Linked DNA regions of Homo sapiens: all the other regions are linked to region 6. The links are contacts of gene promoters, found by promoter capture Hi-C in blood cells and fetal thymus (Javierre and others, 2016). All regions are on one chromosome and are shown on one strand. Each heading gives the region's core, a stretch centred on a gene start or on the middle of the fragment in contact. The rest is flanking DNA. Distances are from core to core; before and after follow the strand shown. Region 1 has its middle 13 kb from the start of KRT38. Region 2 holds the start of KRT13 (keratin 13). Region 3 has its middle 7.4 kb from the start of LINC00974. Region 4 has its middle 9.8 kb from the start of KRT14. Region 5 overlaps LOC105371777 (a long non-coding RNA gene). Region 6 holds the start of KRTAP4-4 (keratin associated protein 4-4). Region 7 overlaps KRT12 (keratin 12).

Region 1 (3,301 bases), core at 443-2,942, 290 kb before region 6:
GGGTCCAATTTTTAAGCCTCATTCACTGTGCTGTGTGAAGCAGGGATGGCAACTACAGCTCACAGGTCAAACCCCACTGCTACTTGTTTTGGTAAATCAAGTTTTATTGGAGCATAGCCACACCCATTCATTTCCCTGTTGTCTATGTCTGCTTTGTGCTACAATGGCAGAGCTAAGTAGTTGCAGTACAAAGAGAGTATACGACTTGCAAAGCCTAAAATATTTAGCATCTGTCTTTTTAACAGAAAAAGCTTGTCCATCTTGGTGCAGAGGAAACAGAATGTGCTAGGGGCCCTGGGACCAGTCCTGGCTCTGTATCTGACTTGCTTGGCATCCCTGGGGAGCTCACTGTCCTTCTCTGGTCTCTGAAGCACGAAAGGTTGAATTAGTACTTGGAAGTTTTCTTTAGTTCTAATAACTTAGCAGTCTTTGCTCTATTGCTCTTTAGGGATTCCTGAGGCTCTTATCAGAGAATTTTACTTTTTTGGGTATTGAAGGTCAGTGGAGAGGACGATTCATCTTAGAGCCAATGCCATTCCTAGAGAGAGGCCAGATAGTCACTCAAGGAACAAAGTCTAACTTTTCAATGGGGCATCTCTAAAGAGAAAACATTTAACATTTCTTTTCACAACAGAAGGCAGTAACAAGAAGTCCAAAGTCAGCCCTTTCTTTCATAAAGTGGGGAGCTACTTCTGAGGACTGAATAACTGCTGATGGGTTGTTCTGATGGCAGAACAAATGAGGATTCATTGGGGGAAAGCTTGTGTATCACATCTGCTCCTATGGCAGGTGAATAAAAGCTCTGGGTGAGGAAACACTCACACCTGAGCACCTGGCCCTTGTCACCAATCTGCAACTCAACTGTCTAGGACCATGGCTTCTAGTTAAAGCAGAAATCCCTGCTCCTCAAGCTTTGGCAAGAGCCATTTGAAGCCTCCTTGCTCCAGACAGGCTGTGGCCAGAAACCACTCTAGAAACTCTGTACCCAATGTCTGTAGATCCCAGTATTAAGACTGGGGCCCACCTGTAAGAGAGTCACCAACCTAGTAGCCATCTCCTTAGAACCTGTGGCTCACAGTCAGTCCAGCCTGGCCCTGCCAGCAGTCACTCTGCCTGTCCTCTGCCAGGGACCAGGAACATCCCTGCCAGTATGGGCACCTGTGGCTGGTTCAGTGAAGACATCCTCAGCAGCAGTGGGAAAGGGATCATGCAGTTCTTAAGTGAGTGCCTGGCCAACTGCTTGCAGAAGTTGCAGCAGTTGGAGCAGGAGAATGAGAAGCAGGGGTGGTGCTGAGAGCCAGCAGTGGAGCAAACGGCAGTGCCCTGACATATGCTCCAATTACTGCTCACACTTTGAGACCATTAAGGAGCTCCAACAAAAAGTAAGATGAGGCCTTGAGCTCTGGTGTCAGTGGCATGGAAAGAGAGGGCTGAGGATTGGTGATGGGAGAATTGGAGGGGTTGCCTGGGGGGATGACAGTCCATGAATGTTCATAAAGATGGATTGAAGGTGCCAGAAATAAACTGTGATGTCAAGGGCCCAACCACTTGGTTCTACAACCAGTTCCATTCAACAAGCATCATTGCTGATGTCTGCAATGAGAGGACTGTGAGTGGGATATGGATTTATTTCTTCACAATCCAGATCCTGCCTTATTTAAGGACATGCCACCATTCACTCACTAGTTATTGAGCACCAGCAATGAGTGATTGCATCGCTGGGTGCTGGGGAGCAGACAGTGCCTACAAAATGAAGCCTCAGCTCTTTAGCCTGGCATTCAAGGCTGCCATGTTCTCAGCCTCACTTTTTTTTGTAGCTTACCTCTTTCTAATCTTCTGCAAACATCCTGTGCTTCTATCAAACTGCTTTGTCACTTGCCCTATGCTTCTGTCAAACTGCGTTGTCACTCACAAAATGTTTGTTCACATGTGTAGTGCTTTCTTTCTCATCTTTGCATGGCCAAATTCTAGTTGGGCTTCAAAACCCAGGTGATATTCCCCACCTCCTGGAATCCTCTCTAGAAGCTAATCCCCCTGGGATGGATTTTGCCTTCCATGGAATAACCCACAGCCGCATATCTGAACGTCTCTTGTGGCATTCTCATCTTTCTATTTGTTTTGGAGTTCCTGTTCTGTACAAGATGGTGGAAAGGATGAACAACCTAACTTCATTTTTAAAAAATTAATCACATTTATTTAGTATTTTCCATTAAGTGCTGATATTCAGCTGGGATGTAGCAGTCTGTCTCTGTGGCCGTTTCCACATCTCCTTTTAGATTGCTGCCAACAGTGGTTATAATATTTCTGAAATCATCCTTGATTCTACTAAATGTCAAACCTGAACTGGGAATTTTCACATACCTTTTTTCTTTGAACCATTTCAGCAATCCTCTAAGGTGGATATTATTATTTCTATTTTATCTAAAAAGAATAGAGCACCTTTATTAAGAGCTCACTAGATGTCAGAAGCTTTGCTAAACATATATGCTTGGTTGCATTTAATCCTTACAAGGATTTGATGAAGCAGATAGAATCACGTTTTCCATTTTACAGATGGGAAGATTTTAAGCTTCAGGGGGTTAGAAGCTATGCCTAAAGTCTCAGAGCTGGTAAACTGCCAAGCTGCGTGACACAGGTCCACTTAACCACTGTGTTGGTGCCTTTGAGGAAGTGGATGAGGAGAAAAAGGGAGGGTGAGTGAACCAGAAGCATGTCTTGGCTGTGCAGAGCTGGGTTTCAGTCCAAGGGGCTATCCCTTCAACCCCCTCACTGCTGCCCAGACCTGACCAATGGAGCCCACAGTAGAGTGAGAAGTGAAACCCCATCTGTATCCCAGAGCGCAGCTAGTTTCGTTACAGATGGGAGCAAACCCTTGGATACTTGATGCTTAAAAATCCACCATAAGGAAAGATGGAAACGTCCCCATGTGGCTCAGATCACATTTTTTTTCATTCATTTTAGGGCCTGGGGAGAATTCCATGGAGAGCATCCTTGTGAAGCATGGTGTTTCTCATTCTCAGATCTCACCCAGGAGGGTAGGGAATGCTTGGTTGGCTGTCCAGGTGGACAATGTGAAAATAGCTGTGACAACTTTAGGACAGAGAGAGTCTGACAGGAGCTGGGAACTGCTGCTCCCTGGTACTCTGTCCATCTCTTTCGTGTCAGGTACAGGTCTCTGTGGAGGAAGCAAAGGAGGGGCAGCCTTTGAAAAGAATCCCTCCAAGGAAATGTTTCCACCAACCTAAGAAGTATTAATAAAAAGATTCAGTCCCAAAGAATTTTAGGGGTAATTTAAGATGTG
Region 2 (3,148 bases), core at 380-2,879, 340 kb before region 6:
TCATGTGTAAATGGGGGCAATAGTAGGACCCTCCTCCTGTGGCTGCTGTGAAGGTTAAATGAGATGATGAGTGTAAAGTAACTTCACCCAGTTCCTGCCTATGGTGAGGGCTCGGAGAATATTCGCTATGATAATGGACAGGGCCACTTCCTCTTTCCATGCCTGAGTTTCCACAGCTGTGTCTGATGGTCCCTAAGATCCCTTAAGGTCTCTGTCACTGTGACTTTTTCTGATGGCCTCGGAGCTATTTCTTTCTCAGTCTAAATACTTTCAAGGCAGGTGATTCTATCGAACCAAGCAAAGTTTGTCATCAGAGTTGCTGGGGCCCCTGGAGTAGATGAAGTGCTAAGAAGGATCCAGGACATCCCAGTCAGAAGTTTTAGGTATAGAAAAAAGGAAGGTCGAGGGCTACGGTGACCTTGCAAAGCACAGAGCCACTCTGCACCCACCACTTTCCTCGCAGAAGCTCCTGGCAGGCCTCCGCATCTCAGGTCCCGTTCTAATACTGGGTGGGGCTCAGAGCCTGCACAGTGAACTCCTTAAGTGGAGGTGAAACAGAATTCACTTGTCAAAAGGGCAGTCTCAGGCAGAATGCTGTCCCCTCTGAATCATTCTTTTTGTTAAGGATTAAAAAAAAAGCCACCCCCAAAAGGCACAACCCACCCTGGAGAGATCAGAGATAACTAAGCTTGTGGGAAACAGAAGTGTAGTTGGCACCAAGTCAGAGGGTGGGGAAGGGAGGAGAGAAGATAACCAGCCCCTATGGAGGTGTATAAAAGGTGTCCACTCTGGGGAAGAGCCACAGTCCTCGGCCCAGGCCAAGCAAGCTTCTATCTGCACCTGCTCTCAATCCTGCTCTCACCATGAGCCTCCGCCTGCAGAGCTCCTCTGCCAGCTATGGAGGTGGTTTCGGGGGTGGCTCTTGCCAGCTGGGAGGAGGCCGTGGTGTCTCTACCTGTTCAACTCGGTTTGTGTCCGGGGGATCAGCTGGGGGCTATGGAGGCGGCGTGAGCTGTGGTTTTGGTGGAGGGGCTGGTAGTGGCTTTGGAGGTGGCTATGGAGGTGGCCTTGGAGGTGGCTATGGAGGTGGCCTTGGAGGTGGCTTTGGTGGGGGTTTTGCTGGTGGCTTTGTTGACTTTGGTGCTTGTGATGGCGGCCTCCTCACTGGCAATGAGAAGATCACCATGCAGAACCTCAACGACCGCCTGGCTTCCTACCTGGAGAAGGTGCGCGCCCTGGAGGAGGCCAACGCTGACCTGGAGGTGAAGATCCGTGACTGGCACCTGAAGCAGAGCCCAGCTAGCCCTGAGCGGGACTACAGCCCCTACTACAAGACCATTGAAGAGCTCCGGGACAAGGTGAGCCCTTGGAAGCTGAGGAGGGGTCCTCCATGAAGGGCAGAGCCTCCAAGGCCAAGAAACACAGTGTTGTGGGGGACTAGGTGTGGACGGAATTCACAAACTTCTTGCAGGGGAAAAGCCTACTGTTTGACTACCAAGAGTCTCTACCTCTGATGGGCTTTCTCATGCCACAACTCCCCAAATGCATTTTCTCTCATTATTCATTTTTATGATTGTTATTACTCAGGTCAGTTTTTTTACTGCTTTCCAGACAGTTATGTTATTCATGACTCGATCTCTATAATCCTAACCTACTGAGTTATCTGGAAACATGACAGGTTTAAAAGCCATTAAGAATGCATGAAATCAACAGAGAAAGAGAGACGTGTTCATTCATTGCCCTGGGAATAATTGTTTACTTTGTAGGGGACCCATTCAAACTGGTATTCTCAACTGGCGATGGCCAAGTTGGGGGAGAGAGAGGCAGAGGCTTAGGCAGTGCCGAGCCTGGGTGCCCTTTGTTGAGCCCTGTCTGTTGTGCTGTGATACCAGCCTGTTGGAGCAGAAATCTACCAGCCTGGGCTGAGTCTCAGCCATGTGGAGCAGGCTTTCACTGCTTTGGAATATAAACGTTTAGACAAGAAATTCAAAGGGATGGGAATATTTGTTGGATTTCCCCTCCACTCAGCTGGGAAGTCAGCTCTAGCAAAGTGATTGTGAGATATGTGGCACCAAGCCGAGTCCCTCCTGACTTTCAGGGGATGGATCTCAAGACAGTGGCCTAGGGAGGGTGCTAGTCTGAGGCTGCCAAGACATGACGAACCAAAGATGTTCTCAGCAGGTCGTTCCTCAGAAATGCACTCCCTGCATCTCCCCCAGGGTGCTCAGACATGGAATATTAAAGTGTTAGAAACGATTGGAGGGGATGCAGCCCCACTCCTCACTTTACAGAAGAGCAATGGAGGCCCAGAGGGAAATGCCTTGTCCCAGCTCACAGGACAGTTTAGAGGTAGAGCCCCATGGGAACCAGGTCCTGCCCATGTTTTCCCAGGCCACCTCCTCAAGCACGTGGACCCCCCAGAGCAAGCTTGTCTAACCTGTGGCCGGTGGGCTGCATGTGGCCCAGGACAGCTTTGATTGAGGCCTAACACAAATTTGTAAGCTTTCTTAAAACATTGAGTTTTTTTTTATTTTTTATTTTTGCCAATTTCTTTTTAGCCCATCAGCTATCGTTAGTGTTAGCGTATTTGATGTGTTGCCCAAGACAATTCTTCTTCCAATGTGGCCCAGGGAAGCCAACAGACTGGACACCCATGCCCTAGAGGTTACCTTCTTCTGCATTTTGTAGATCCTGACCGCCACCATTGAAAACAACCGGGTCATCCTGGAGATTGACAATGCCAGGCTGGCTGCGGACGACTTCAGGCTCAAGTGAGTTTTTTTTTTCCCCCTCCCTCTCCTTTCCCAGGAGTCTCTTAGTTTAGACAAAAGCTCATCTGACCAATGACACTGGAGCATCCCAGGAGTGAAGGTCTGGAAGTACTGGAGTCTCGTGCAGGGGTAGGGAGAATGTCTCATATCATTTATGTCTTGCTTTTTCAAAAAACATTTCATTTTTTTACTATTTTAGGTATGAGAATGAGCTGGCCCTGCGCCAGAGCGTGGAGGCCGACATCAACGGCCTGCGCCGGGTGCTGGATGAGCTCACTCTGTCTAAGACTGACCTGGAGATGCAGATCGAGAGCCTGAATGAAGAGCTAGCCTACATGAAGAAGAACCATGAAGAGGTGAGCGGGAATTGCAGGCTG
Region 3 (3,257 bases), core at 147-2,646, 400 kb before region 6:
TGGGTCAAAGGTGGCTCTAGCAAGACACCTGAGCAGTGAGAGTCTGTGATCTCTTTTCTAGCGCTCCGCTGTTAATATGCAACTGTTTACTCTTCTCTGGTTCTTTTTCTGCTACCTGCTGTCTTCCTCATCTACCATTTTACATATCTTTTTATTTATTTTATTTATTATTATTATTATTTTTTGAGACGGAGTCTCACTCTGTCGTCCAGGCTGAAATGCAGTGGCACGATCTCAGCTCAATCCAACCTCTACCTCCCGGGTTCAAGCGATTTTCTGCCTCAGTCTCCTGAGTAGCTGGAACTACAGGCACCTGCCACCACGCTGAGCTAATTTTTGTATTTTTAGTAAAGACGGGGGTTTCACCATGTTGGCCAGACTGGTCTTGAACTCTTGATCTCAGGTGATCCACTTGCCTCGGCCTCCCAAAGTGCTGGGATTACAGGTGTGAGCCACAAGGCCTGGCCCATTTTATGTATCTTTTCTCTACCTCAATTTGGGAAATTCTCCACCTTAAGTGTGAAGCTCCCCAAGGGAGAGGTCAGAAACTTGCTTTTCCGAGCTCACCTGCATCTAGGGCATGGGCCCCTGACAGCCCTGCCACTCAGGTGCGCCCGCACAAGACGTTTTTTTTTTTTTTTTAACCATGGCACCCCATTGGAGTGAAGGACTTTGATTTTGATTTAAAGGAGGTGCTGAGTGGAATTTTTTATGGCAGGAACAAGGTTGGGCAGAGATATGTGATTTTTTGAGGAAGCAATAGCAGCGGCTCTGGCAAAGACATGCAGTGCCCATCATCCATAGTTTGAGCTTCAATTTTGGTGGCCAGAAGTGACAGCAGTGGTGTGTTCCTAGAGCAATCCTTGAGTGTGATTTGGGGAATTTTTCTGTTTGCATACCCTCCAAGTTTGATTCTCTGCACATCCTGGAAAAGATGCCCAGTAGTTGCTCATTATTTCACAGGGAATACATTCAAAGATCCTGACTGGATGCCCAAAACTGTGGATAGCACCTAAATCTATCTACACTATGCTTTTTCCTACACATTCATACTTAAGATACAGTTTACTTTATAAATTAGGCAGACCAAGAGATTAACAACAATAACTAATAAAATAGAATCGTTATAACAATATACTGTAATAAAAATTATTTGAATGTGGTCTCTCTCTTTCAAAATATCTTATCATACTGTAGATCTTAGCAACCTCAGCGTATGGTTTTTTTCTTTCCGTAGTAAGTTTTGAACTGTCATCTTTTCTCTTAAAGAAAGCATTTTGCTGGCTGGGCGCGGTGGCTCATGCCTGTGATCCCAGCACTTTGGGAGGCCAAGGCTGGAGGATCACCTGAGGTCAGGAGTTTGAGACCAGCCTGACCAGTATGGAGAAACACTGTCTCTTCCAAAAATACAAAATTAGCCAGGCATGGTGGCGCATGCCTGTAATCTCAGGTACTTGGGAGGCTGAGGCAGGAGAATCGCTTGAACCCGGGAGGCAGAGGTTGAGGTAAACCGAGATCACGCCATTGTGCTCCAGCCTGGGAAACAAGAGCAAAACTCCTTTTAAGAAAAAAAAAAAAGCACTTTGTGGCTTCCCTTTGGCAAATCTGAATTATCAGCATCACTGCTCTTGCACTTTGGGGTCGTAATTAAGTAAAATAAGGGAACACAAGCACGGCAATACTGCAACAGTTGATCTGACAACTGAGACAGCTACTAAGCGACGACTAGTGGGTGGGTGGTGCATAGAGCATGGAGAGCTGGACAAAGGGATGATTCCTGTCCTGGGCTGGACAGAGTGGGGCAGTGTGAGATTTCATCATGCTCTTCAGGGCAGCACACTTCAAAACTGACAAATTGTTTATTTCTGGAATTTTCCATTTAATATTTTTGGATGACAGTTGACCACAGGTAACTGAAGCTGTGGAAAGCGAAACCATGGATAAGGGGAATGACCGTGTTGCTTTCTCTGCAGGTGAAAGCATATTTATTCTGGTACTCTTTGTTTATTGGGATAAAGAAAAAAGAATTTCCCACAGCAGGTGCCAGGGTCAATGGTGATCTGCTTTAGAAAAGGGACACAATCTGGATCAACGACTGCTGTTGGAACAACCATGTGATAAATTGTAAAATAATTCATGGCTATTCTCTAACATCTGTTCATGTTCTGCACAGAAAAACTAGGCAAGTTAACCCTAAATTTATCATTTTTTTTTTGAGACAGGGTCTCTCTCTGTTGCCCAGGCCGGTGGGCAGTGGTACAATCACAGTTCACTGAAGCCTTGACCTCCCAGGTTCAAGCAATCCTCCTACCTCAGGCTCCCAAGTAGCTGGGACTACAAGCGTGTGCCACCACGCCAGACTAATTTTTGAGGTTTTTTTTTTTTTTTTTTTTTTTTTTAAACTAGAGACAGGGATCTCACTCTATTGCCAGGGCTGATCTTACATTCCTGTGTTCTCTCCCCATCTTGCCCTTCCAAAGTGCAGGGATTACAGGCATGAGCCACCACTCCTGGCCCATCAAATCTTTCATGTGGCACTAATCTCTGTCATTCCCTTAGAGATGTAGTGTTGCTGGTCCTTTTTCTAAACCACGTAATCCTTACTGGTAAGGATCAGGATCCTTTTACTGACTATGTCTAGTCCACTCCAGACACTGGGAAATAACCACAGGATTGGTCTGGGATACCACTGGGCTCATGAGAAGCAAACTTGGGCTAAAACTCCATTTGTCATCTGATCTCTATATTGGTTAGATTCTCAATTGCAACTACCAGAAACTACTTTGCCTATTTTAACAAGTAAGGGATTTTCAAGAGCTCTAGATACCTTAGAGAATCATTAGGAGGGCTGGAGAAACAGAATCTAGGGTGATTTTTCCAGAACCCTCCAAATGACAAAGCAGAGTGGATCTGCCAAAGGAGTTGTTGCCTCTGCCAAGACCATGAAACCACCAAGTCAGATTGGAGCCTTCTGAGTCCATTCTGCACTAATTCTGGACTCAGCTGGAGTTGCAGAGCCACGCTGCTTCTGCTGTCCATACCAGTAAGCTGGATGTCCCAGGTGAACCTCATTTCCTCACCTACTTCCCTTCTAAACCAAGTCCACATGGGTGCGTCTGACTAGTAGAACCTAAATTGCTCAGCTCATCTTAGTGGCAAGGGAGGCTGGTAAATGTAGTTTTTAGATCTCCCTGGAAAAGAATAGTGACAAGATGACAGATACAACCTACACTCACATGAGCTTCCATTCTAACTGG
Region 4 (3,085 bases), core at 73-2,572, 440 kb before region 6:
ACCACTACCACCATCACCACCATGACCACCACAATCACCACCATCATTACCACCATCTCCATCTCCATCACCACCACCACCACCACCACCACCACTACCTCCAGTACCTCCAACACCCCCAGCACCATCATTTCCTTTCCCCCAATCACTCCTCCAGTTCTTTGAAGGGGGTGTTGCTCATATGGGTTAAGTTAGATGGGGAGTAACCAAAGTCTTGGGACACACAGACATCACTCAAGCTGGGACAGTCAAAGGACAGATGCACACTGAGTGCTGCAGTAGAACAGTCCTCGCTAGATGCTGACAGAGAGAACAACCAACAGAACACTGATGAGATAATTGAGATAACGAGGCAGCACAGACTTGGATACCCCCATGGGGCTCCCATGTGGCTCCCTGGGAGGCAGACAGTGCCTGGTCTGCCTTGTGAAGGCTGCACAGCCTCTGGATGCTGCCTCTGCTCCTGTCCACCTAGGCTGTCTCCCTGACCGTGGGGGCCCACCAACTCTTCTTCCCCTTCCCTCACCAATATCCTCCCCCAATCTGGTTTTCCCTCTTTCACTTTGTTTTATCCAGAAGCTTTCCCTTTGTCCCTCCTAGTCTCTTGCTTATGGCCTAAACCTCGAGGCTCATTGGCACGCTGGAGCTGGCTCATGCTGGCTCTTGAGAGCTGGACATTAAAATTTCAGGAATTTTGCAAGGTGATTGTTAAATATGGCCCTCATCAAAAATTAAATTATACGAACTTAAAATTAAATGAATTATATTGAGAACAAAGGTAATGCATACTGAAAACTCATTCCTTCCAAATTATTTTACTACATTGTACTAATATCTGTGCTCTTGAGGTACTTATGACCATTTTATCCATATGGTGGACATGCTATAAGGCAGTGAGCTACTGCACGTCTCTTCCCAACCCTGTGTTAAGTGACTCCCTGTTGGTTGCTTGAAATTGGCCACAGTGGGGGTATTTACAACACGAAAAAAATAAATGTTATAAATTGGGGCTTGATTTATTGTTTTATTGATTGTCTTTTTTTTTTTTTTTTTAAGATGGAGTCTCACTTTGCCACCCAGGCTGGAGTGCAGTGCTGTGGTCATGGCTCACTGCAGCCTTGACCTGCTGGGGCTTAAGCAATCCTTCCACCTCAGTCTTCTGAGTTGCTGGGACTACTGGTGTATGCCTCCATGCCTGGCTAATTATTTTATTTATTTATTTTTGTAGAGATGGTATCTCACTATGTTGCCCAGGCTTGTCTTGAACTCCTGGGCTCAAGTGATCCTCCTATCTCAGCCTCCCAAAGCGCTGGAATTACAGGTGTGAGCCACCATGCCCAGCCCTGAATTGCCTCTTTTAGAAGCTAATTCAAGCTGAGTTTCCGTTGCTTGCAACCAAAATGTGCCCATCAATATATCCTGTTACCTAATTCTTGATTTATTTTTCTTCTATCCTTGCTGGATATTTTTAGTTTTATTATAAATATGTCTTTTATCATAAGCCATCCATGCCCTCTTTTGGAACTGGGAGACAGAAATGGTCATTTTTTTGCAAATATTGCACTGACAACCAGGATGGCCTCATTGAAACCTGAGAGGCTGCTTCCCCATCCCCTCATTCCAGCCACAGAATGTGGGCCCTGCTGGAAGCTCCCAGGCCTTCTCCCCTCACACCTAAACCATCCGCTGACTCTTCCTCATCAGTTTCCAGGCCTGCCCTATTCCCACAGCCTCCACCCTGGCCAGGCCCTTGCAGACTCACCAGCCCATCACCTGGCCGGCTGACCTCAGCAGCTCCCAGCTCCTGCAACAGGAGCTCCAGTAACATCCTGGACTCTTCTCTGTTCTCTGCCTCAAGGTCTTTGGCTGAACCTTGACACCTGTTCTCCATTTGCATCCCCCACTCCCTTTGGTCTAACTTGGGCTTAATTTAAGTGAACTTTTACCAAACACTTCCTCTGTGCCCAGTACCATGCTGGCCACCTGCGCTGACTTACCCACTCCTCTCAATAATCCTGCCAGGCTGAACTGGTTCTATTCCTATTTGATGGAAAACCAAAGCTTGGACGGCTGCAATGGCCTGTCCAAGGTCACATGGCTCGTCAGTGATGGAGCCAAGACTTGAAAGCTGGTCTTTCTGATCGGGAGGCCCTGCTCCTTCCTTGATCCCATGCGGTATCCCGTCTGGGGGAGGGAGGTGGGGTGCAAGATGCTGAATCTGTTCCCACATCTCTGACTGTGGGAAATGACTCTTTCTATCCATGAGGCTAGAACTACTCGGCGACCCCTTCCCTTCCTCTTTCCCTTTCCCTCTGTCCTGCCGACCAGAGCTCAGGACTCCTGACACAGACATTCCGACTCCCAGGTGCTGACTCTCCCCGCAACTCACCACTGTGCTGGAGTTCCCACAGCCACGCCCTCTCCCCACTCCACCCTCCAGGGTTCTTCCTTCTTTCAAAACCTGAGTCAAAGCGCACCCTTTCCAAGAAAACTTCTGTGTGCTAATCCACCCCACCTTGTGGCTCCTGTGCTCCTGGCTCCCCTCAGCCTATGGCACAGGGAAAACTCTGGGCTCTGCAACCCTCCTCCATCAGACTGGACAGCCCACGGGCAAGGGTTGTGTCTCCTGCATCAGACCAGAGTAACACTGAGGACTGACTATGTGAAAAACACTTTGTGGCCCCCTAAGGCACTATGGGGAGGTATAATCAAGGGTGGGGGCACAGATCACAGAGGCAGTGGGAGGTCTGAGAGATGGGGAGAAAGCCAGGTGACCTGAGCTGATGGGGTGGGGCTTCCTGGGAGAGGAGAGGTCTGAGCCAACAACATCCCTTACCTGGATATGGCAAATTCTCCCTACTGGTCCCCCACACCACGGCAAAGTATGTTCTGCATGGAGACCAGGGTGGCCTTTGTGAAACATCCGACAGCATCACTCACCAGCTTAGGACCCTTCAGTGGCTCCAGTGTCATCAGGATAAAGTCTGAGCTTCCCAGCACCTTTATCACCACCTGGCCTAAGGCTCTCAGTTTCATCGGGCAGGCCCAGCCTTGAGCTGTGAACTCTAACAATACATAACTGCTT
Region 5 (3,254 bases), core at 722-3,221, 270 kb after region 6:
ATTTTTAGCTGTTGCATAGCATCCCACTGTACGAACATGTATCAACGCATTTATTCATTCTACTCTTAACATTTGAGTTGTTTCCAGTTTTCTGTTGTGTGTGTGTATGTTAGTACGTGTGTGTGTTGTTAATATGAACAATGCTTCTGTGAATATTCTTGTACATGTCTATCGTTCAATATTTACAAGAGTTTCTCTGAAGTGTACACCTAGGAATTGTTTGCTGAGTGATGGCTATATGAATGTTCAGCCTTCTAAGATAATCTCAAACTATTTTACAAAGTGATTGTACCTACTTATACAGCTAACATGAATGGACTGGAATTCCCCTCGGCCACCTTGCTATCGTCCAACTTTTTAAATTTTTCCGATTGGCAGATGTGGAATGGGCCATTCAGCTTTCCTCTTCTCTGCAAATCTATTCATATTTTGCCCACTTTCTCACTGGGATGCTTTTCTTTTTCTTATTGATTTGTAGGAATTTTCCATATTCTGGAAACTAATTGCTTGTCAGTTACATGACTTCTAAATATCTGCTCCCTGTTTGAGGCTTTTTTCATTATAATTATGGTATATTTTAATGAATAAAAATTGCTAAATCAGTATCAATTTTGTACTTCACAGTTTTCACTTTTTGTGTCTTGTTTAAAAATACTCCTTTACTCTAATTCCTAGAGATATTATTCTGTGTTTTCTTCTAAATGTTGTATAGTTTTTAACTTTTCACATTTTTATCTTTAATGAATCTGGAATTCATTTTCTTATATTTTAGGTAAATTTTGCCTTAGACAGAAATACAACTGCCATTTGTTAAATATGGGATACTCCATTTCTTTCCTCATTGATTTGAAATGCCCAAGCCGTACAAAATTAGTTTCTATAGGCAACAGATCTGTTTCTGAGCTCTTTGTGCTAATTCACTGGCTTATTTCCAGATCATTGTAAGAGCCATCATGTGAAAGGCAAAACCATAAAATTAGAAAACATAATATGCATTCTTTTTTTTCTTCAACTTTTATTTTAAGTTCAGGGGTAAATGTGCAGGATGTGCAGTTTTGTTACATAGGTAAACATGTGCCACGGTGGTTTACTGCACAGATCATCCCAACACCCAGGTATTAAGCCTAGCGTCCATTAGCTATTCTTCCTGATGCTTTCCCCCCAACCACAGGTGCCAGTGTGTGTTGTTCTCCGCCATGTGTCCCTGTGTGGAAAATATAATATGCATTCTTAACCTGTCAATATCTAAAGTTAATCTGTATGTTTGCTGTTTTCCTAAACAGTCCCGCAATTTAGAACAATTTAACTCCATTCATCCCCTTCCAGCCCTCATCTACTTTAATTCCATATTGTTTTTTCTTCTCAATAGATATATTATTTTATAGCCAATACTTGTCTTTACATTTACATTTGGTCGCATGCTTAGCACTCTATTTGTTCATTATTTTAATTCTTTTATGCATCTCAGAACTTTCATCTGGAATCATCTTCCTTCTGCTTAAAACACATTCTTTCAGATTGCTCTTAGTGAAAACTTAGAAGTTGATGGCAAATTCAGTTTTTTAAATGTTGAAAATGGCTTTATTTTACCCTTCTTCAAATATAATGTTACCGAGTCAGAAAATTCCGGAATGGCAGTTATTTCCTCCCAGCACATTGAAGATTCTATTCCATTTCCAGTGTCCATTGTTGCTTTTGAGGAGTCAGTCATCAGTCTAACCACCATTCCTTTGTTGGTGATTTATTCTCTATCTGCTTGTAATTATCTGGTTTTCTGCCTCAATGTGTGTAGTGATTTATTTTTATTCCTTTTGCCTGGAATTCATTAGGTCTCCTTAATCTGAGAACTTGGGTTTTTTTTAAAGAATTCTATAAAATTCTCACTTTTTATTTTGTTGAATGTTTTCTTATTCTCTTGTGTCTTCTTCTGGAACTCTGATTAGACATATTTAGACCTTCTAATTATAGCCTTCATGCCTTCTTGACTTCCTCCTTCGTCACTTAGCTGCATTCTGGAAATTTTCCTCAGAGCTACATTTTGTTCAATAATCCTGGCTTAATCTGTTCCTGGATCCATCCACTGAACTTGTAATTTTAACGGCATTATTTATTTCCTCTGGTTTGTATTTCAGATCTGCTTGGTACTTGCTCCAATTTTAAGTTTGTTTTATTTTCTAAAACAATTTATATTTATATTCTTCATCCAATCATTCTATAGCCACTATGAGACAATAAATAAATCCATCCAACTCATCAAAACACAGCTGAGAATTACCAAATAAGTACAAACAAAAACCTAAATATGACTGATTAACTGTGCAGAATACAATGATGTAAGTTTACTATACATCAACCTCCTTGTACCCATCTCCTCGCTTCAACAAATAACTCAGGGCAAAACTTCCTTCATCCATACTTCCACCCTCCTTCTCCCTGTCTGAACAAGATGCCACTCCAGAGACTGCAGGTTCTATGTCTATCATATGTGATTGCAATAGCTTGGTCATGGTAGAATACAAAAAAAAAGAAAAAAGTTGAAAGCCCTCTGAAAACTGTAGTGCTTATAATAGCCTTCCCAACTACTGGCCATACTTAATATTAATCATTAACACTCTCAGTAGAGTGTCTCAGAAGTCAAAATGTATCTCCTACTAGCTACAAGGAAGTTGGGATCTAATAAGTATTTATTTACAGCTGCAGTCACCCAACAGCCTGAAATACCAGGGTCTCTAAATTCATGACTTTGTGTATGAACAAGGGTCAATAGGATCTTTACTCAGTCCTCGAGATATAACTCAGAAAAATGAATTGCTGTGAAAAACTCACTTGATTTCCTGTGGTCACATTATAAGATCGAATAATCTACAAAAGTACAAAACTCAGTGATATAGAGAAGCCAGCAAATTCTCCTGCCCTTATATAAACAGGTGGGAGGCTTTCCAGTAGAATTTTTTCTACTCCAACAAATTGGTAGATTGAATGACTATACCTCATAATGATGACACTATTGTATCATATTTTAGTTTAAATTTAAAACCTCAAAAACTTACCAAAACTAGCCAAAGATTTCTGGAATAAGATATAGACAAAGTTATTTCTCAAAAAAAAGAAAAAAATTGGCTGGGCCGGGTGCAGTGGCTCACGCCTGTAATGCCAGCACTTTGGGAGGCTGAGGCAGGCAGATCACAAGGTCAAGGGATCAAGATCAGGCTGGCCAACGTGGTGAAACCCCATCTCTACTAAAAATACAAAAA
Region 6 (2,950 bases), core at 154-2,653:
ATTTCTAAATATGTTATTGTATATATTATATATATATTTATACATACTATTAAATACAAACATATATGAAGAATATATATTATATATTCATAAATATGTAAATATATATATTCCTATATTACCTATATATAAGGTTCTCTATCTACCCATCTATATATGTATAATATATATATATATTCCTAAGGTCCTTTGGCAGAATATATATATTCCCCCAAACCTGTGTGTGTGTGAGTGTATATATATATATACATATACATCAAAAGAAAATTATGGGCCTAGAAGAATTAAAATCACCCAAGGTCAGACATAATGTGTGTGTATGTGTGCGTGTGTGTGTGTATATATATATATATATATATATATACACACACACACGCACACATACACACACATACATACACACACATATATGTGTGTGTATGTGTGTATATTTATATATAGTGTGCATATTTATATATAGTGTGTATATTTATATATAGTGTGTATATACGTGTGTGTGTATACTATATATAGTATATATATGTATATATATAATATATATTATATATATATATATATATTATATATATATAGCAAGGACACTGGGTCCTTTACCTTAGGTTGGCAAGTAAACCTTAGAAATAGAGGAGATGACTCAATGTGATTGTTAAAGCCAGAGAGACAGGAAGGAAAAGTCAGAAGGAAAATCAGCCCCTCAGAGCAGAGAGCGGAGGGACCTGAACCTTTTAGTATAGCTGATCTCTGTAGCCAATTTCCCCTAAAGGCCCTGAAACTGAGTTTTGGAGTGTTGTTTCTCAAGAAAAAGAAGCATCGATAATTCATGACTTAGATGTCCACCTTAAAACAATTCTGCTTTCCCCAGTAGAACATCTAGAAAATGGGTCATGATTCATTGTATGGAAGGTGGCAAGGAATATATCCTAATAGTATTTGTTTTCATGCCACTGGTCACCTGTTTCACATTCAAACCTTCATTGCTCACTTGATCTATAACAAACATGCCATGAGATTAAAGCACAGCTTTCTCCTCCTGAGTCACCAAAAGAAAATTACGGGCCTAGAAGAATTAAAATCACCCAAGGTCAGACATAATGTATTAAGGAAAATGAGGCTGCAGCACATGGTACCTGCAGGCAGATGTCACATGGCAGCTCAAGGAGGAAGCTGCAGCAAGAGGCACACAAGAGGTTGTTCAAGAAGAGCTGACCTGAAGAATCCTAACACACCAGGGGAAGGAAATAATGCTTTTCTCCATGTTGACAAATTTAAGCAGAAAAACAAACTTGCCTAATTTGATAATTGCCTGCTCATCAGAACAAACAATGACAAGGAAAGAGTGCTGCATCCGATGACATCAGCCCTGAGCAGGGTATAAAAGAGGATCTGGGGCAAGGAGACTTCCAAGCCTTCCAAACCCTCCTTCCTGGAAACCCACCCAGAACCTCCACCCTCTGACACCATGGTCAACTCCTGTTGTGGCTCTGTGTGCTCTGACCAGGGCTGTGGCCTAGAGAACTGCTGCCGTCCCAGCTACTGCCAGACCACCTGCTGCAGGACCACCTGCTGCCGCCCCAGCTGCTGTGTGTCCAGCTGCTGCAGACCCCAGTGCTGCCAGACCACCTGCTGCAGGACCACCTGCTGCCACCCCAGCTGCTGTGTGTCCAGCTGCTGCAGACCCCAGTGCTGCCAGTCTGTGTGCTGCCAGCCCACCTGCTGCAGACCCCAATGCTGCCAGACTACCTGCTGTAGGACCACCTGCTGCCGCCCCAGCTGCTGCAGGCCCCAGTGCTGCCAGTCTGTGTGCTGCCAGCCCACCTGCTGCTGCCCCAGCTACTGTGTGTCCAGCTGCTGCAGACCCCAGTGCTGCCAGACCACCTGCTGCAGAACCACCTGCTGCCGCCCCAGCTGCTGTGTGTCCAGGTGCTACAGGCCCCATTGTGGCCAGTCTCTATGCTGCTAGCCCATCTGCTGGCAAACCACCTGCTACAGGACCACCTGCTGCCACCCCAGCTATTGCATTTCCAGCTGCTGCCAGCCTTCCTGCAGTATCTCTAGCAGCAGTAGCTCCTCCTGCTGTGGCTTCAGCTGCTGCAGGCTCTCCTGCTGCATCTCCAGTTGCTGCCGCCCCAACTGCTGCCAGACCATGTGCTGCCGCCCAACCTGCTCTAGTGCTTCTTGCTGCTGAGGCTGTCATCTGGACTCACCAGATTCTCATCAACCAGCATTCTTGATGTAGCTCATCTATGAGCTGAGTTATGGGAAGCTAGTTGGAAAACTTCAGTTCCAACCAATTCTTAGATTGAATCTGGCCTCCAAATATATGCTCCCCCCACATTTTACCTCTCTACCAAATGAACATAAGTTGTAATTTGCTCTGAAATCTGTCAACTATCTTAATTGAAATATTTGCTCTCTGCCATAATTTCTCATATGGAGCTATTCCATTTTAAACAAATATTTATCTAAATAAATCTTAAATAAATTTTCAGGCATAGAAATATACAGATACTGTGTCTCATTATTTTTCTTTTTTGAGTGTGGTCAATTACCAGTCAATTTTTCTGTTGTTCTTCTCTGCAGAATGTAATTTCAGGGGCACCACCTCTATTTCCTCAGCACACTTTATTCTAATATACAATGGTGGTTTCTTAGAGCAAGCACCTGGAACTCTCTTCTTGAAGAGTTTCTCTAGCCAAGGAGCAAGCTCTGGACTGTAGAGTTAAAGCCTCTTGGAATAGTATTCAACAAATGAGTGAGAGTTGGTGAACACATGCTTTAGTTATTTCTCCTCCAGTTGGGAGCATGTTGTACCAGCATGTCAGTGGTCCTCAGAGACACCAAATTCCAGCTACCTACAGGGCTATTCTGATCATTAACTCATCTTGTATTCACTTCCCTCCCTTTCCTGGAGCATTTTTCGTGTTCCATACAGCACTTCTTGGGACCACCT
Region 7 (2,950 bases), core at 35-2,534, 300 kb after region 6:
CCTGCTAAGGCTCAACAAATTTGAGGCACTTTCTGATTTTGTCATTTTCATTATAAGGCAATGACAATAGGAATGCTAACAGTCCTAATTCAGTGATTTTAAAAAGACTGAGTATTTTAAAAGTTAAAACAAAAGTCTACCAATAATATATAATGTTTTATATGTCAGAGAAACTGGTTATACTTAGCATAATGCACACCAGAAAACTCTGAGGTGCCATGGTGCATATTGGAGGCTAGGTAGGGAAGGGATGCTGGCAATAGGAAGTTTCTACTAGATTTTCGATGATTGTGGCACAAACAGCGTGCAAGCCCAGGTACTGTCTGCAGCCCTCGGTTTGGCAGCTGTAGGTGAAAACCCCAGTGAGTGTACGCCAGGCCTCCTTTCACGTGAAGGTCGTGGTCCCTCAAGAAGCAGAGCCAACTTACCCATTAGGCACAGCAGGCACTGCTCCCAGGGTCTGTGGTAATTTCAGGGACCCATGAATATGTCTTAAGTTCTTGTAATATCAGAAGAAAAATATGAATTTTGAGGTTAAAAAAGTTTTAATGTATTACATTAATATATTTGTCTTTATACCAACAGTCATAAGATAGAATTTTTAAGTGTGTGTGTGTGTGTGTGTGTGTGTGTGTGTGTGTGTAGGAAGGGGCCCAAGAGGACAAAAGTATCCAGGGCCCACGAAAGTCACAATGGACCCCTGTGCCCCTCTCTCTCACATGCTGTCCCCAGGAGCTCCAAAGCTTCCGGGTGGGCGGCCCAGGCGAGGTCAGCGTAGAAATGGACGCTGCCCCCGGAGTGGACCTCACCAGGCTCCTCAATGATATGCGGGCGCAGTATGAAACCATCGCTGAGCAGAATCGGAAGGACGCTGAAGCCTGGTTCATTGAAAAGGTAACACAAACAACAAAGGCTTTGATACATTCACAGAAAGGCCTGCGAACGAGCTCAGCGCTCGAGCCCCCTGGCTGTCTTTGCTGTTGCAGAGCGGGGAGCTCCGTAAGGAGATTAGCACCAACACCGAGCAGCTTCAGTCCAGCAAGAGCGAGGTCACCGACCTGCGTCGCGCCTTTCAGAACCTGGAGATCGAGCTACAGTCCCAGCTCGCCATGGTAGGCTCGTGCGCAAACAGACGTAGCATCCTTTGGACTTCCAAAGAAAATGCTGCATCCAAATTACATTAGCCGTTGGCTACCCTCCTCTTTTCGGTCCCCTCCATCGTTATTTCTATGCCATTTCCCTCCCACGTGCAGAAGAAATCCCTGGAGGACTCCTTGGCCGAAGCCGAGGGCGATTACTGCGCGCAGCTGTCCCAGGTGCAGCAGCTCATCAGCAACCTGGAGGCACAGCTGCTCCAGGTGCGCGCGGACGCAGAGCGCCAGAACGTGGACCACCAGCGGCTGCTGAATGTCAAGGCCCGCCTGGAGCTGGAGATTGAGACCTACCGCCGCCTGCTGGACGGGGAGGCCCAAGGGTGAGCAGACAACGGAGGCTGTAAACACCTTCAGGGGCTGACCAAGAGTGGGCAGCAGAAATAGAAGGAATGGGGTTTTAGTTGACAGAAAAGCAAACAAACAAACACAAGTCTAGTAAAGATATGCCTGGGATTTACTAAATGCTCTACACTTTGCAAAGTGTTTTCACCCATTATCTTACTTGATAATTCATAAAATGCTGCAAAGAACAAAGGCACCACGGTCAGAAACAGTTTGTAAATGAGTACTCCCTGTACTATAAAAGTCACTTACTCAATTTCTGATATCAAAGACCTGATGATAAGAAGGACACATAGTAGCCACCTGAACCACCTACTCTAACAAGCTTTCCAAAAGTGATCAGAGTCTGCACTAGTTGGAAGAACTCAGGCCTACAAATTGGGAAATCTAATTTCTCAGACCAGATCTTCCATTAAAAGCCAGGTTGTTTCACTTTTTGAGGTCATCTCCTTTGTTTTCTTACAGTGATGGTTTGGAGGAAAGTTTATTTGTGACAGACTCCAAATCACAAGCACAGTCAACTGATTCCTCTAAAGGTATGCAGAAACCCTAGAATCACTTAGAATAAGTCGGAATCACATTTATTAATGCAAAACCTGTAAGACCTCATTGACTACTGCATTATTATTAATTTTAATTTAAAGCATATTTATATTCTGAGCCAAGGAAAAACATTTATGCATTCCTGCACAAAATGAGTAGTCTATACCATATTAAAACTTTTGGGGGCCTGGGCATGGTGGCTCATGCCTGTAACCTCATAGCTTCGGGAACCTGAGGTGGGAGGATCGCTTGAGGCCAGGAGTTCGTGACCCACCTGGGCAAATAGCGAGACCCCATCTCTACAAAAAACTTAAGAAAAAAAATAGCTGGGTGTGGTGGTGTATACCTGTGATCTCGGCTACTCTGGAGGCTGAGGCAGGAGGACCGCTTGAGCCCGGGAGTTAGAGGTTATAGTGAGCTATGATCATGCCACTGCATTCCTACCTGGGCAACAGAGCCAGACCCTGTCTTTAAGAAAATTAAAATTAAAATTAAAAAATAAAAAAAATGGCAAAGCAGAAGGGAAAAAACCTACTCTGCTGCAAGGTATTATGATCACCATAACCACCTTTGAAATGTTTTCTTAAAAAAAGTTTTCATATATGTACAAGGCAACACTGAATACATTTCATTGTCATTGGCTAAAACACATTTTTGAGAAGTAAAATTTACTTTTGAAAGTTTAATTAGATGGATTGTATCAACCAATGCTTAATTTAGAAGCCTACATTAAACAACCAGTGTTGGATTAATATTTGAAACACTAACTCTTGCCCCCTTATTCCATTTTTATCTTTAGACCCAACCAAAACCCGAAAAATCAAGACAGTTGTGCAGGAGATGGTGAATGGTGAGGTGGTCTCATCTCAAGTTCAGGAAATTGAAGAACTAATGTAAAATTTCACAAGATC

The links. The method cuts DNA at HindIII sites, captures the fragments that hold promoters and counts their contacts. A CHiCAGO score of 5 or more calls a contact.
Region 1: a contact is called between a fragment that was not itself captured here and the fragment with the promoter of KRTAP4-4 in region 6, in 1 of 17 cell types (naive CD4 T cells). The highest score is 6.2, in naive CD4 T cells.
Region 2: a fragment that was not itself captured here is called in contact with the fragment with the promoter of KRTAP4-4 in region 6 in 2 of 17 cell types (naive CD4 T cells and non-activated CD4 T cells); the score reaches 5.3 in naive CD4 T cells.
Region 3: a fragment that was not itself captured here is called in contact with the fragment with the promoter of KRTAP4-4 in region 6 in 1 of 17 cell types (naive CD4 T cells); the score reaches 5.5 in naive CD4 T cells.
Region 4: a fragment that was not itself captured here is called in contact with the fragment with the promoter of KRTAP4-4 in region 6 in 1 of 17 cell types (naive CD4 T cells); the score reaches 5.0 in naive CD4 T cells.
Region 5: a contact is called between a fragment that was not itself captured here and the fragment with the promoter of KRTAP4-4 in region 6, in 1 of 17 cell types (neutrophils). The highest score is 5.6, in neutrophils.
Region 7: a fragment that was not itself captured here is called in contact with the fragment with the promoter of KRTAP4-4 in region 6 in 1 of 17 cell types (monocytes); the score reaches 5.1 in monocytes.

Annotation. Positions count from the first base shown.
Region 1 is chr17:41,451,848-41,455,148 of GRCh38, reverse strand. No RefSeq gene overlaps it. Among named protein-coding and RNA genes, the nearest start is that of KRT38, 13 kb to the right of the region's middle. The HindIII fragment of the contact is 1,558 bases long and covers 914-2,471 here.
Region 2 is chr17:41,503,266-41,506,413 of GRCh38, reverse strand. KRT13 (keratin 13) reads left to right here and starts at 802. Exons shown (of 8, transcript NM_153490.3): 1 at 802-1,358; 2 at 2,689-2,771; 3 at 2,971-3,127. The coding sequence starts at 864. The HindIII fragment of the contact is 1,600 bases long and covers 830-2,429 here.
Region 3 is chr17:41,560,255-41,563,511 of GRCh38, reverse strand. No RefSeq gene overlaps it. Among named protein-coding and RNA genes, the nearest start is that of LINC00974, 7.4 kb to the right of the region's middle. The HindIII fragment of the contact is 7,476 bases long and covers 1-3,257 here.
Region 4 is chr17:41,595,116-41,598,200 of GRCh38, reverse strand. No RefSeq gene overlaps it. Among named protein-coding and RNA genes, the nearest start is that of KRT14, 9.8 kb to the right of the region's middle. The HindIII fragment of the contact is 1,482 bases long and covers 582-2,063 here.
Region 5 is chr17:40,887,881-40,891,134 of GRCh38, reverse strand. The region is part of intron 1 of LOC105371777 (a long non-coding RNA gene); the gene reads right to left. Among named protein-coding and RNA genes, the nearest start is that of KRT20, 4.3 kb to the right of the region's middle. The HindIII fragment of the contact is 6,046 bases long and covers 1-3,254 here.
Region 6 is chr17:41,159,201-41,162,150 of GRCh38, reverse strand. It overlaps KRTAP4-4 (keratin associated protein 4-4), which reads left to right and starts at 1,403. Exons shown (of 1, transcript NM_032524.2): 1 at 1,403-2,502. The coding sequence starts at 1,460. The coding sequence ends at 1,960. The HindIII fragment of the contact is 13,067 bases long and covers 1-2,950 here.
Region 7 is chr17:40,861,647-40,864,596 of GRCh38, reverse strand. KRT12 (keratin 12) reads left to right here. Exons shown (of 8, transcript NM_000223.4): 4 at 733-894; 5 at 987-1,112; 6 at 1,254-1,474; 7 at 1,962-2,032; 8 at 2,839-2,950. The coding sequence ends at 2,936. The region is part of intron 1 of LOC105371777 (a long non-coding RNA gene); the gene reads right to left. Among named protein-coding and RNA genes, the nearest start is that of KRT12, 4.1 kb to the left of the region's middle. The HindIII fragment of the contact is 1,078 bases long and covers 746-1,823 here.